3 separate regions of the Homo sapiens genome follow, and regions 2 and 3 are each linked to region 1. Evidence: promoter capture Hi-C in human tissues and cell types (Jung and others, 2019). All regions are on one chromosome and are shown on one strand. Each heading gives the region's core, a stretch centred on a gene start or on the middle of the fragment in contact. The rest is flanking DNA. Distances are from core to core; before and after follow the strand shown. Region 1 holds the start of DNTTIP2 (deoxynucleotidyltransferase terminal interacting protein 2). Region 2 overlaps BCAR3 (BCAR3 adaptor protein, NSP family member). Region 3 overlaps BCAR3 (BCAR3 adaptor protein, NSP family member).

Region 1 (2,673 bases), core at 124-2,623:
TGGCACAAACTTGCCGCCTGAAAACCAGCGAACCCAACTTTCCAGGAAGTAAAATGCACTTTAAAAGATCAGGAGGGCTGGGCGAGGTCGTTTAGGCCTATAATCCCAGCACTGTAATCCCAGCACTTTGAGAGGCCGAGGCGGGTGAATCACCTGAAGGCAGGAGTTCAAGACCAGCCTGCCCAACATGGTGAAACCCCGTCTCTACTAAAAATACAAAAAAAAAATTAGCCAGGAATGGTGGCGGGCGCCTGTAATCTCAGCTACTCAGGAGGCTGAAGCAGGAGAATCGCTTGAACCCGGGAGGCGGAGGTTGCAGTGACCCAAGATTGCGCCATTGCACTCCACCCTGGGCGACAGAGCAAGACTCCGTCTCCAAAAAAAAAAGTCAGGGACGGCCTCCTCTCTTTTAGATGCCGTCCCTAAAGACATGCACACAATTTATACCTAATTGGCTAAAACGTAGTCACATAGCCACATTTGGCTGCAAGAGAGACTATAAAATAAGCTATTTTAAGCTGGGAAGCAGTGTGTCCATCGACACAGTGTTCTGTGACTTTAAATAAAAAATTGGTTTTCTGTCATGAAGTAGAGACTAGGTTTGGTGAGGCACTCATTCATCCTTTCTCACCTCCAACAATAATTTGCGTTTACTTATTTTTTCAACCCCTTCCCATCCCCTCAAACATAGTTCTCTACCTTTTATCTCAAAAGATAACCAAAGAAACCTCTTGATTCTGGTCATACTCTTCCTTTCACTGTGACAATAACAACAACAACAACAACAACAAAACCTTATTCTTCTCCTTTACAATTTCTTTAACGTTTTTTTCTTTTCTGCTATTCCCAATCCCTAAACACCATCTCACGTTTAGATTATACAGCTTTCCACTTCGTCTCCCAGTTCCTGCGAGCACCTTATATCCCTTTTACCCCAACCAAGTCCTTAAATTTTATTTATAGTTAGCGTCACAATACACGAGTAAATATTGTCTTTCTTTAAAAAGCACAAATATCTCAAACTTCTCCCTTGGACATACCAATGGCTACATTAAGCTCTTTAGAACGTAGAAATGAAAGAACGCCTCCCGGGTTCAAACGATTCTACTAAACAAATGAAAGAACGAATGGCATGTAAGTGCGTTTTTACAATTCATGTGAACGGGTACGCTAAGACCCTCTGTCACTGCGGGCTTCGCCGCCCCGATGAAGGTCTTTCCCAGCAAAAATCTGGCTTGCCTTCTACAGCTCTGAAATGCACACTTAAACCCAGGCCCTTTGTCTCTGACCGCCCTGGCCTGAACTGGCTGGGCGGAGATTCTCGCGAATTCTCGGATCTGCGCGGAAAACGCGCTCGAGGCAGTTCTCTGACGCATTTCCGGAGCGCCAGGGAAGAGGGAAGTCGTGGTGGTCGCGAGGGAGCCGGAAAGATGGTGGTTACCAGATCTGCACGGGCTAAGGCCAGCATCCAAGCCGCGTCGGCTGAAAGTTCCGGGCAAAAGGTAGGAAATCCAGTCTTCCCTACTTCTCGCCGCTTCGCAGAGCCGCGCTCAGGCAGGCGGGGCGGCGCAAGGGTCCGGTTAAGGGTGAGGACCTGCCGACAGAGAGGACCCGAGCTTGCCGCGCGCTTGGGTCTCCCAGGCCCCGTGCTAAGCCTGTCACGGAAACTGTTTAGCCTTCACCACTGTCTCTTAAGGCAATTTTTAGTATGGAAGAGAGGTTAGATAACTTTATTTGGGTCGTTCAACTCCTTAATGCAGAAGCACAGTTCGAACTTTTAAACCTTACTGTTAACACGGTACCAAGGAGGGTTAATTTCGGCCACCATGCACAAGCCCCATTTAGGGGGGCTGGAAAAAAAGCTTCGTTTTCACGTGGGGAGGCTGGCAGCTGTCCAGCATCACCTCCTTAAGGCGTGAGGAGGGCTGTGGTGTCGTCGCCTGGTGACTCTTAGTGGCGTTAGTCGGCTGTCTCATTCTGACTCAGCGATGCAGGGAACGGAGCGGCGGCGATTTTTTCCTGTACGTAAAGGTAAGGGCGGCGACTGATTCCATCAGTGTGTTCCTAAACACATCGGTGTTCAGAGTTAATATTCCCTTTCTCCCCTCTTCTATAGGTGGGTCAGAATGTTGGTCTACCCATTATATTTGACTTTAAACAGAAAAATTTTAATCGTTCTGCTTCTGAAGTTACATCTAGGAAGGATGAGGCTAGTGAAGTAAATGCAGGGTTGGCTCCAGTGTTTAAATTTTGATTTTTTTGTTTGTTTGTTTTTGATTCGGAGTCTTGCTCTGTCGCCCAGGCTAGAGTGCAGTGGCGCAGCCTCGGCTCACTGCAACTTCTGCCTCCCGGATTCCAACAATTCTTCTGCCTCAGGCTCCTGAGTAGTTGGGATTACAGGTGCGCACCAACACGCCCCGCTAATTTTTTTACTTTGAGTAGAGATGGGGTTTCACTATGTTGGCCAAGCTGTCTCGAACTCCTGACCTCGTGATCCACCTGCCTCGGCCTCCCAGAGTGCTGGGATTACAGCCGTAAGCCACCGCGCCCGGCCAAATTTTGATTTTTTAAAAATCATGAGTTGGGCAGGTTTTTTTGTTTTTTGTTTTAAAGGTAATCTTGTTTACTGGGTTTTAGCTTTTGGGGTCAGTATTTCATTTGCTTTGCCCTTGT
Region 2 (2,673 bases), core at 120-2,619, 240 kb after region 1:
ATGGGCCGATTGGCTGGCTCTGCAGGTTTTTGCCTGAGTGTGCACATTGGCAGAGCCAGCGCCATCCCCTGTGGGACCAGAGATCAAACACCGCCAGCAGTGAATGTAAAACAGCCCTGGCCCGCTCTGGGGCCCACATGCAGAGGGACGAAAGGGAGCTCCCATCCAACTTCTTCCACTCCACCCCAAAAACATTCTCTGCAAATATTCTTGGGAGGTTCGGTGTTACTACAGTTATTAAAAATGCTGAGGTAGGATGTTCCCACATCCTAGGTATGGATGACAGTCTCCCTCATTCAGTGGAATCTTATCCTTCAGGTCTATGAAAATGTGGCCATTTATAAAGAGTAAAACCTTATGAAAACACATGTCCGTATAAAAGTCTATATGCATGTTTATAGTGACATTATTCGTAATTGACAAAAACAAAAACTGGAGACAACCCCAAAGTCCTTCAACTGGAAAAAAGTAGTACACCCATATAATGGCATATTATTTAACCTTAAAGAGGAATGGACTTTTATTTACTTATTTTTTTAAGAAACAGGGTCTCATTCTGTTGCCCAGGCTGGAGTTCAGTGGTGCAATCATAGCTCACTGTAACCTCAAACTTCTGGTCTCGGGTGATCCTCCCACCTCACTGAGTAGCTAGGACTCCAGGCACTCACTACCACACCCAGCTAACTTGTTTATTTTTTGTAGAGATGGGGTCTCCCTGTGTGCTTGGGCTGGTCTCGAACTCTGGCCTTCCTCCTGCCTTGGCCTCCCAAAGTGCTGGGATTACATGTGTGAGCCACTGCTTCCAGCCTAGGAGTGGACTGTTGATATACGCAGAAACACACATTGTGTTAGTCTGTTTTCGTGCTGCTGATAAAGACATACCCGAGACTGGGCAATTTACAAAAGAAAAAGGTTTATTGAACTTACAGTTCCATATGGCTGGGGAGGCCTCACAATCATGGTGGAAGGTGAAAGGCACATCTCACATGGCAGCAGACAAGAGAAGAGAGCTTGTGCAGGGAAACTCCGTTTTTTTTTTGTTGTTGTTGTTGTTGTTGTTGTTTTGAGACAGAGTCTCACTGTGTTGCCCTGGCTGGAGTGCAGTGGCATGATCTTGACTCATTGCAACCTCCACTTCCTCGGTTCAAGCAATTCTCCTCCCTCAGCTTCCCAAGTAGCTGGGATTATAGGCCTGGGCCACCATGCCCAGCTAATTTTTTTTGTATTTTTAGTAGAGGTGGGGTTTTGCCACGTTGGCCAGCCTGGTCTCGCACTCCTGACCTCAAATGATCCACCCACCTCGACCTCCCAAAGTGCTGGGATTATAGGCATGAGCCACTGCGCCCAGCCAAAACTCCCCATTTTAAACATCAGATCTCATGAGACTTATTCACTATCATGAGAACAGCATGGGAAAGACCTGCCCCCATGATTCAATTACCTCCCACCAGGTCCCTCCCACAACACATGGGAATTCAAGATGAGATTTGGGTGGGGACACAGCCAAACCATATCATGGGTGAATCTTGAATACATTACGTTGAGTGAAAGTAGACAGTCTCAAAGGCTACGTACTCTAAAATTACATTTGTATGATATTCTGGAAAAGGCAAAACTTATAGTGACAGAAAACAAATAAATGGTTGAAAAGAGGTTGGAGAAGAGATGAAGTACACCAAGGAGCTTCCAGGGATGATAGAAATAGAAATATCGTGATTGTAGTGGTAGTTACCCAACTGGGGTTGGCTGTCAGTGCTCATGGAATTGTACTGAAAAGGGTGACTTTTGCTGAATGCAAATTATACCCAATAAGCCTGACCTTAAAAAGCAAGCTAGGCTGGGTGTGGTGGCTCACGCCCTTTGGGAGGCCGAGGCAGGCGGATCACAAGGTCAGGAGTTCGAGACCAGCTTGGCCAACATGGTGAAGCCCCTGACTACTAACTAAAAAAATACAAAAATTACCCGGGCATGGTGGCATGCGCCTGTAATCCCAGCTACTCGGGAGGCGGAGGCAGGAGAATTGCTTGAACCTGAGAGGTGGAGGTTGCAGTGAGCAAAGATTGCGCCACTGCACTCCAGACTGGGCGATAGAGCCAGAGTGTATCAAAACAGACAAAAAAAGGCAAGTTAAAGCCTTGTATTTCAGTCCTTAAGTGCTGCCACCTCAGTAGGAGAAATTTTCCATTTTGAGATGGGCCACACCAGGGAGGCCAGACCCTTGATGAGATGGAAAAAGTGCCGAGCTTGAAGATTTTTGACTGCAGTGGCTCATTCAACAGATATTTTTTAGTATATACCATGTGTTTGTAATTGTTCAGTCAGGTCAGACCAGGTGGGAAGAAAGTGTTACCAGGAGCCTAACCTGAGATAGTCGCAGTGGGAATGGAAAGTTAGGCCACATGGTGAAGGGCTTTTAGAGATAGAATTAAGACCCAGTTATTAGGGAAGCTGAGAGATTCTAACAGGATGTAAATGGTGCAGGTGAGGGAGAGAAGCTAGGGGCAGTTCCTGGGACCACACCAGTACCTAGCATTGTGCCAGAAGCCAGTAAATAGGGAGGAAAGGAGATGTCCATTTGGAAACCTTGTTACCACAGTGACGTTAATCTTCGAGCATTTGTGGATATCTTTAGACCAAGGGGTCAGCAAACTATAGCCTAAGACCAAATCTAGC
Region 3 (2,673 bases), core at 101-2,600, 220 kb after region 1:
GAGTGTCAGCCTTAATCCTGCTAACTGCTAGTAAAACATACTTTAACAAATAAGATCAATGGGTATGTTTTAAGATGTGGAAGACTGAATCTCTTCTCATTTATTTTGCAAGGGGATGAAACAAAAATATTTAAGCGCACATCTAGAAGTTTTATAGTTCTCTGTTTAAAGCTACATTGGGGCTGGGCGCAGTGGCTAACACCTGTAATCCCAACACTTTGGGAGGCCAAGGTGGGTGGATCACCTGAGGTCAGGAGTTCGAGACCAGCCTGACCAACAGGGTGAAACCCCGTCTCTATTAAATACAAAAAAATTTAGCCGGGTGTGGTGATACATGCCTGTAATCCCAGCTACTTGGGAGGCAGAGGCAGGAGAATCTCTGGAGCTCGGGAGGCAGAGGTTGCAGTGAGCGGAGATTGCACCATTGTAATCCAGCCTGGGGCAACAGAGCGAAACTTCGTCTCAAAAAAAAAAAAAAGCTACACTGGGCCAGGTATGGTGGCTCACCCCTGTAATGCCAGCATTTTGAGAGGCCAAGGCTGGCAGATCACTTGAGGTCAGGAGTTCGAGACCAGCCTGGTCAACATGGTGAAACCCATACCGTCTCTACTAAAAATACAAAAATTTGTAGGCCGGGTGCAGTGGCTTACACCTGTAATCCCAGCACTTTGGGAGGCTGAGGTGGGTGGATCACCTGAGGTTGGGAGTTCAAGACCAACCTGACCAACATGAAGAAACCCCGTCTCTACTAAAACTATAAAATTAGCAGGGCGTGGTGGCGCATCCCTGTAATCCCACCTACTCGGGAGGCTGAGGCAGGAGAATCACTTGAACCCGGGAGGCGGAGGTTGTGGTGAGCGGAGATCATGCCATTGCACTCCAGCCTGGGCAACAAGAGCAAAACTCCATCTCAAAAAAAAAGAAATTAGCCAGGCATGGTGGCGGGTGCCTGTAATCCCAGCTATTTGGGAGGCTGAGGCAGGAGAATCACTTGAACCCGGGAGGTGGAGGTTGTAGTGAGCCAAGATCGTGCAATTGCACTCCAGCCTGGGCAACAAGAGTGAAACTCCGTCTAAAAAAAAAGAAATTATCCAGGCATGGTGGCGGGCGCCTGTAATCCCAGCTACTTGGGAGGCTGAGGCAGGAGAATCGCTTGAACCTGGGTGGCAGAGGTTGCAGTAAGTCAAGATCGTGCCATTGCACTCTGGGCTGGGCAACATTGCGAGACTCTGTATCAAACAAACAAACAAATAAATAAGCAAGCTAGCTACATTGCTTTTAAATTTAGCAAAGGCTATATGCACAATATTCCCCTGCCTGCAGTAAGAAAGTAACTCTTTATTGGGACCTTAATATGATTCCCAACATCAGTAAATAACCTGCTAATCTAAGCACACACTAGCTGATATTTTTCCAAAAATGTCATTTCTGCACTCACCAGGCGTGTCCCATTTTAAGCCTGTTTGTTTTCTCTTTTTCCTGGTAAACAGATAGAAATGGCCCTATGGTAAACTCTGTCTGTTCTCTTGGTTATCTCCCTGATTAAGTTTCTCCCTGGTATTTTAAACATGTTCAGAGAGATTCATTTTCAACAAGATCAGCCAGCCTCTCACAGTATCACTTTGAAAACATCTGGTCTCATTGGGGCTGGGGAGCCAGGCGCTGCTCTGGCAGCAGTGCTGTTCTGTTGCTGAGGGAGTTCTGTCTGAGGCCATCACAGTTCGGTCGCTGGCCTGTGGCTAAATTATCTCCTTAATGAGGGGGCCTGTCAATCCAAGAACAACATTTCTCTCTTGTTCCCTCTCTCCTTCCAATGTTTTATTCCCTTAGTGAACTCATAGAGTGTAGTGGGAGGAAGGTCTAGGTCTTCCGCGTATTAGAGAAAACACACACACACACACACACACACACACACGTTCATTTATTCAAACCAACATACATGGAGCAACTGCACGGGAGGTACAAAGGTGAATACAGTGTGGTCCCTGTTCTTAGTGAGCTCATAGTCCAGTAAGGGACATAGACGGGAATACACATGGTATATCGAATTGTAATTGTTTGTCATCACAAAGTTTTATAATTCATAGGAAAGGAGCACTGAGGAGATGTCACTGATTGTATGAGTTGTGTGTGTGGGTGGGGGTGGGAACGTGTGGTCAGAGAAGCCAGGGATGAATGAGAAGAGGATGGGGACCCCAGGCCTATTGATACAGGTAATTCCAAGTAGTTAAATTTGCTGGAGTGTAAGGAGCAAGGTGAGGAGATTAGGCTGGTGAGTTGGGCAAGACCTTAGAACCGTGATTGTCATCTAAAAAATATAAAATGAGAATGCTAGACTGTCCCATGTAATAACCTTATCTAATAGAACATTATTATACTTATATATGTAACCATATATATAATATATATTTCTATTATAGTAGAAGGAATATTGTCCAGTAGATGCAAAATCTTCATAGACTTAAAGCCGGTTGCTGGCCAGGCATGGTGTCTCATGCCTATAATCTCAGCATTTTGGGAGGCTGAGCAGGGAGGATTGCTTGAGCCCAGGGGTTTGAGAACAGCCTGGACAACATAGCAAGACCCCATCTCTACAAAAAAATAAAAAATAAAAAAATTAGCCAGGCATGGTGGCATGCGATTGTAGTCTCAGCTACTCAGGAGGCTGAGTCA

What was found. Contacts are between HindIII fragments. The study calls those that stand out against the background at their distance.
Region 2: a fragment that was not itself captured here is called in contact with the fragment with the promoter of DNTTIP2 in region 1 in 1 of the 25 tissues and cell types used here (heart right ventricle).
Region 3: a contact is called between a fragment that was not itself captured here and the fragment with the promoter of DNTTIP2 in region 1, in 1 of the 25 tissues and cell types used here (hippocampus).

Annotation. Positions count from the first base shown.
Region 1 is chr1:93,877,906-93,880,578 of GRCh38, reverse strand. DNTTIP2 (deoxynucleotidyltransferase terminal interacting protein 2) reads left to right here and starts at 1,373. Exons shown (of 7, transcript NM_014597.5): 1 at 1,373-1,502. The coding sequence starts at 1,431. RefSeq lists enhancers at 551-1,366, 1,218-1,647. The HindIII fragment of the contact is 10,129 bases long and covers 1-2,673 here.
Region 2 is chr1:93,633,087-93,635,759 of GRCh38, reverse strand. All of the region lies in intron 3 of BCAR3 (BCAR3 adaptor protein, NSP family member), which reads left to right. Among named protein-coding and RNA genes, the nearest start is that of BCAR3-AS1, 42 kb to the right of the region's middle. The HindIII fragment of the contact is 5,755 bases long and covers 1-2,673 here.
Region 3 is chr1:93,659,296-93,661,968 of GRCh38, reverse strand. All of the region lies in intron 2 of BCAR3 (BCAR3 adaptor protein, NSP family member), which reads left to right. Among named protein-coding and RNA genes, the nearest start is that of BCAR3, 21 kb to the left of the region's middle. RefSeq lists an enhancer at 1-84. The HindIII fragment of the contact is 4,330 bases long and covers 1-2,673 here.